Linked DNA regions of Homo sapiens: region 1 is linked to region 2. The links are contacts of gene promoters, found by promoter capture Hi-C in human tissues and cell types (Jung and others, 2019). All regions are on one chromosome and are shown on one strand. The core of a region is centred on a gene start or on the middle of the fragment in contact, and the rest is flanking DNA. Distances in the headings are between cores, read along the strand shown.

Evidence for each region. Contacts are between HindIII fragments. The study calls those that stand out against the background at their distance.
Region 1: a fragment that was not itself captured here is called in contact with the fragment with the promoter of EFEMP1 in region 2 in 3 of the 25 tissues and cell types used here (adrenal gland, aorta and mesenchymal stem cells).

Annotation. Positions count from the first base shown.
Region 1 is chr2:55,858,992-55,862,268 of GRCh38, reverse strand. All of the region lies in intron 2 of LOC112268416 (a long non-coding RNA gene), which reads right to left. Among named protein-coding and RNA genes, the nearest start is that of EFEMP1, 63 kb to the left of the region's middle. The HindIII fragment of the contact is 4,085 bases long and covers 1-3,277 here.
Region 2 is chr2:55,921,884-55,925,290 of GRCh38, reverse strand. It overlaps EFEMP1 (EGF containing fibulin extracellular matrix protein 1), which reads left to right and starts at 1,509. Exons shown (of 12, transcript NM_001039348.3): 1 at 1,509-1,580; 2 at 2,352-2,392; 3 at 2,844-2,931. The coding sequence starts at 2,851. RefSeq lists an enhancer at 1,450-1,949. The HindIII fragment of the contact is 10,259 bases long and covers 1-3,407 here.

The DNA of each region.
Region 1 (3,277 bases), core at 108-2,607, 63 kb after region 2:
ACTCCAGACAGGCAGAAGTAATTGTGTTACCCAAAATACTCCTGAATTCTGGAAACTGAAATGCAAACACCAGTCATGTAGACCTCACTATACTTGAGAGGACAGCAGTTTCCAGAAGAAAAGAGGCCATTAGTAGAGATCCAGATGGATCTCTACCAATAATGGGGAGCTTTGAGAGCAATAGTGATTGATACGGTTTGGATGTTTCTCCCCTCCAAATCTCATGTTGCAATGTGACCTCCAATGTTGGAGGTGGGGCCTGGTGGAAAGTGTTTGGGTCATGGGGTGGGTCCCTCATGACTGGCTTGGTGCCCTCCCTGCAGGAACACATTCACATGAGAGCTGGTTATTTAAAGAAGTCTGGCTCCTCCTCATTTCCCTTGCTCCTGTTCTGGCCATGTGATATACCTACTTCCCTGCTTCGCTTTCCACCATGATTGTAAGCTTCCGGAGGTCTTCACCAGAAGCAGACGGTGGTATCACATTACCCGTATAGCCTGCAGAATCGTGAACCAATTAATCCTCTTTTCTTTATAAATTACCCAGTTCAGGTATTTATTTATAGCAATGCAAGGGCGACCTAACACAGTGGTGAAGATAGAATGAGTCTAACACTCCCCTGGTCCAGGAGCTGGACAAAAAAGCATACAGCGTCCTTCCTGCTGTAAGGATTATTATAAAGCCAAGGGTAAAGAACATTGCCGTTCCTTGACACTGGTTAACATTCATTAGGTGAATTTCGAAGGTGCAAATATGTACAAGGAACATCATCACCTAACAGCTTCTGTTTTAGAGGCTGAGAGTAAGACAAGATATGACACTATTAAGAACTCAGTCCTCAATGGGGCTTTAGGTTCTTGCACATGTGAAAATGGCAAAAATACATAGGTATTTTTTAAATTATAATTTAAAAATATAAGTATTGAAGAGTAGAAATCAGCTAGAAACCAATCCCCATATCTAGTACATGTACTAATTTCTACCACTCTTCATTTACAAGGGAGATGCTTTAGTGAATTCAAATGATGGAAATGGAAAGATTGTTCAGTACCCTAAGGCCACCTGAACACAGCCCAGTGGGATTATTATTTTTGGGGAAGCTTCACAAATAAAAGTTTATTGTTGAGTCTTGTTTCCATGACTTCAAGCGGTTGCTTGTGTTTTGAATAGTTATGTATGCTTCTAACTTTCTAACGCTCCTTTTAAAATATAGAACAGCTGCTGGTCTGCTCATATGTTATGCATAAGAAGCCCACAAGGGACAAGGCCCTCTATTAATATGTTGAATTATTTTTAACACAGTTTTACTTCTATCCCAAATCATCATCTCTAAAAGATGGCAAACTTCCATCTTCCCAGCTGGGGGGAGCACCTGCAAAATTCAAACCCAAATTGTGACACATCTGGTACCCAAAAACCAATCTTGTTTCATCTGGCCAGCAGACTAAAATATCAAGATCGTTGAACAGAAACAAGGCAAAAAGTTAACTGCCTCTTATATGCAGTCAATGCAGATGTCTAGTTAAGCTGTTTATATAGTAAGCGCATGTGTATGTTAACGGAGCACAGACCCCTTTAATAAGCCAGAGTTGGAATATAAATGCAAGAGAATTTTAAAGACCTGAATGCAATAATTCGGTTCTTTTTTATCTTCCCATAGAAACTAAAGTAGTTTCTGCAAAATCTCAGCATGATATTTAAACAGATGCATATAACACAAATGATTTTGTTGAGTTGAGTATCTCCAAATTGTTTATTTCCTTTAAAAACCCCATTTTATGTTTTTGTATTTTAATATTTACATTATGTTTATTTAAGTGGTAAATTACTTGCAAATGGCTTAAACAAGGTGTCTTGGTTTGTGTTGCCCCAGATGCAGATTCGGACATAAAAACTGAGTTCTGGTAGGTTGAGAGGTTCTCTTGGGAAGCAAACTTGAGTGAGTGGGGAAAGTGAGCCAGAAAGAGATGCCAATGAATTCGTGAGTAAATGAGTGGATCACCTCTGTGAGCAACTGTAGCTCAAGTCCTCTGATAAATCATATGGAACTCACCTGAGAAACATTCCACTAGAGGCCACATGGGCTGCAGCATTTATCTACCAACTCCCGTCCCTGTGGTAAGTGTTGCCCATACACACTGCCTGCAGGAGGGTGTGCTTCCTCATACTGGAGAAAGCCCTCAGGCAGAGGGTAAGAAAGATAGGGGTTTGATAGAGGATGCTGTTGGCAAACTAGAAACTGCTACTGCACCATGCAGTAAACTCATATGGCTAAGGAGATCTGCGGCAGACATCAACATTTGCTGACTGACGCCAGTGCAATGCTAGATGATTCTGACAAATGGAGCTTCTGTTACTTACTGGCTTGATGGCTTCATACCACATAAATCTCTTCCTTGACCTTTTTCTGGTCATTCTCCCATCTTTTCTTCCTTTTCCTCTCTCATTCTCTTCTTCTGCTCAGGCACTAACCATGTCCAAGGCTAATGGACATGGTTCAGCCAATGACACTGAATTAGATTCAAGGACACATATAATACTATGCAAAGTGGTACTGTATAGTTAATACCACGAGCCTATCTGATTCTAGAGCTCATCACAAGTCCAATTGCAGAGTACTAAATAGAATGAGTAGCCCTTCAAAAGTGAATGTTCAGGGAAGCTAATGAAGCTAAAGCTTCAAGGCTCCTCCCTTGCACCAGCCCCTTCCAAGGTCCTGAAAGGGACCCTATGTTCACATAGTTATATATTTTTGTAAAATTTGTATAATACATTTTAGCTGTATTGGTTAGAATTACTCTTTCATCTTGGGCTCCCCTCATCACACTTCACATGTCACGTGGCTCTGAAGTGCGTCAAAAGTATGTTTGAGATCCAGCCTGGGAAAGTGGAGTTAGGAGAGTGTATTTAGTTTGGATTTAGTAGGATATATTTATATAGTTAACATTCATTTCTATGTATGGTTAATTTGAGCTCCTGTCTGGGGTAGGAATAGCCTCTAGAAATATTCCCACCACCCTCTGTGTTGACCATAGCTGACAGCATGCCCAAAAGTTCAGGGCCAGGAGTCCCATCACACTATAACATTCTACAGCATCCAACAATGGATGTAAATAGCAGAGGAAAAACAAGTTTTGGAATATGCAGAGCTATAAATTAATCTATGGAAAATCCTTCCATTCACCAGACATGTAAAATAATAAGCAGAGGATGTGGTTTTAATCAATGCCTACTCATGAATATACCTAATTATGCAGCATATACAACTATAAATGCA
Region 2 (3,407 bases), core at 260-2,759:
TCCACACATACACACAGACACATAAAATGGAATACTATTCTCTTTTAAATTTTGTATGCCTAATAATTCATGGTTAAAGGACAAGATAATAACTATTTTTGAGTATCCCGCTGTGGAGACACGATCTCCTTTGATCCTTGCAGCAATGTGTAAGGTAAGTGGCATCATCTTCCTTCTATTAATGGTAGAACTGAAGATCAAAGAGAGTGTCTAACTTGCTTAGGGCTACATAGCCAAGTGGTGAAGCTAAACTCAGTCTAGGCTTACTTGATAGTACACTAACATTAAATGTCTAGGAGTAAATATCTAAAACAAACTGTAAGTCTTCTCTATTTACCATACAAATTATTCAAGTGAACTGCCATTTTTGCCTGGCTTGAAAGATACTTTTCAGAAGAATGGGCTCATATACACATGCACGCGCGCACACACACACACACAATGGAATACTATTTAGCCTTAAAAACGCATATATATCTAAAATATATGTGTGTACATATTTTATATATATATGTGTTTATATATATAATATATATTATATTTGTATACACACACACATATATGCCACATTTTCTTTATCCATTTATCCCTTGATGGACACTTAGGTTGATTCCATATCTTGGCAATTGTGAATAGTGCTGCAATAAACATGAAAGTACAGACGTCTCTTCAACACACTGATTTCAAATCTTCCCAGTAAATACCCAGAAATGAGATTGCTGGATCATATGATAATTCTACTTTCAGTTTTTTGAGAAACCTCCATACAATTTTCCATCATGTTTGTACTAATTTACATTCCACCAACAGCATACAAGCATTCCCTTTTCTCCATTCTTGCCAACACTTGTTATCATAAAGGGAGGTTTGAGAGACCATAAAACAAACCCCACCTCACAATTTTGTTAGTGCAAGTTCTATTTGGCCTATTCCCAACACTAAGCACACAGTAGGTGGCAAATATTTGTTGAATGGATGAATTCTCATTTTTCTCCATTTGTGGAAGCAGACACCTCCTCAAAAAAAAAAAAAAATCCGAAAGAAAAGGTAAAGGAAACAGTTCTATGAATGGGGGTTAATTTACTCTCCTAGCATTCACTTATTGGGAAAAAAAGTAACAGCAGTTTCTAGAACCCTCTGGTCTCTGAGGGAGATGCTGTGTTCCCCTCCTCAGAGAAGAAGAAAACGCACTAGAGAGTGGGAGCATCCCCAAGGCTGAAGCGCATCCAGGACATCACATGTCAACGTGTCCTCTCTGGCGTGGGGTCCCCGCGAGTCTGGGAAACGAGGAGCTGGCAAGGGAGGGCAAGCGGGGGCGGCAAAGAGGGCCCCTGGAGCAGGGGGCGCGGACCTCGCTGCGCTGCGCGCTCTACCGCCGGGCTCGCAACGCTGGGCTCAGCGCTCGCGCCTCCCTCAGCTCTCTCCTCCGCCCCCCTTCGCCCTCCCCCTTTCCCTCCCTTTCTCCTCCTCCTCCTGCCGCCGCGGCCGCTGCCGGACTTCGCCAGATCAGACCCACGGGGCTGCCCTCCCCTGCGCACTCCCCTCGCTGCCCGGGCCCGGAGCGCAGCGCGGCCGCACAGGTAGGAGCCCCCAACGGGGGGTCGCCCCGAGCGAGCCCAGTACTCACTGGGCCGCGCGCGGGAGAGTGAGGTGGGGTGAGCTGAGGGGTGTTGAGTACCCGAGAACTGCCCTGGACTGTGCAGGGTGTCTCGGGCAGAGAGGGAGGTGGAGGTGTGCAGCCTCGGAATGCGATCTGTCAGCAAGTGCGAGTACTCGGGTGACATCTGTTGGGATGGGCATGTGTGTGCGCGCCGACAACCAGCCGGCAGGGCTTTGCCCATAAACGTGGTTTTGAAAGTTTAGGGGACCAGTGTGCGAGATTTAAGCCGCACCTGGATTCCATAGGAGCTGGTTAGAAGCTGGGACGCTGAGCAGCTCCAGGGGACCGCCGCGTTAGCTTGCTGTTAAGAAAGGGGACCTCATCTCCCTGCCGGGCCAGGCCGCCCGCCCGAAACTGGTACCTTGGGCTGCGGTGCGATCCCTGGTTCCGGTCCTAGGCAGCCTGAAACCGAAGGTAGCGTGTCGGGGACCCAGACTGATAAGACAAAAGAGAATCAGTCGCTTTGGGCTGCCCCTCCACACAACCTGGGACTTTTAAACAAAGCTGTGCGCAGAGAAAGGCGTGGAAATGCCACTTTGAGAGTTTGTGCTGGGGGATGTGAGAAGCTCTGAGACATGTGAGAAGGTCTAGTATTCTACTAGAACTGGAAGATTGCTCTCCGAGTTTTGTTTTGTTATTTTGTTTAAAAAATAAAAAGCTTGAGGCCAAGGCAATTCATATTGGCTCACAGGTATTTTTGCTGTGCTGTGCAAGGAACTCTGCTAGCTCAAGGTGAGTATACTGGGAAAGCCTTAACGTTCTAGAGAACAGAGTTTTGCAGCCCCACCTCCATCCCCCGGGGTGTGGGACTGGGGGGCAGGAAATGCACCGTCCCCTTTGAAATGGATTACTGTTTTTTCCTTTCGACCCCCTCTTTCTGCAGCCTGCTTTGTAGGTGCAGTATAAAATGCACGCTGAATGTCTTTTGTATGTAAACAGCGTAGCAGGATGGAGTAACGTGAAATGCAATTCTACAGCAGTTTTTACGTCTTTGCTGCCTCGTTCGTTGGCTACCGAGAAGGTTCAGGAGGGGGAGGGGAGATGAGAAAGCAGATTGGAAGTTGAGTATGGTGGAGCCTCAGCCTCTCCCACCCTCCTTTCCTCGCTTGTGCTCACTGCTAAAGTTTTGTTACTTTCCCCGCAGCAGATACTAAACATTAGTTTGTCCTGTATTTTCTTTGAGATTCACAATGTTGAAAGCCCTTTTCCTAACTATGCTGACTCTGGCGCTGGTCAAGTCACAGGACACCGAAGAAACCATCACGTACACGGTAAGGGGTGATGGAATTTGAAATAAGTACGGTTCAGCGGGATTCTGTGACAAAAAAAGACTTTACACACCCCTGCCAGTGTATTTGGGCTATACTCTGCTGAGGGTGATAAATTAAACAACACTTCATTCATGCTTCATATCTAAGATTCGTTGTAAATTGCCCCCTTGATCCTTTCAAAAGTTCATTGGGCTCACCACCTAAGATAGGAACCAACATGTAATCATTTGTGCAGGGCTAAAAATGGGATCCGTTCAAAAACTAAAACCAAAGAAAGTTACATGTTTCCAAAACATTCAACAAATTAATGGGTGTAAGGAACTGGAAAACCTGGACTCCTACCACATGCAGATAAAACCAATACGTGCAGAATAAGACTCAAGTCAAGTAAGAACGTTAAACACCATAAAGACACATGGCCTTCTTTGTGTACATGACATGCATTCTCAAGTAAGTGGCCTTTATTGAATTTATAA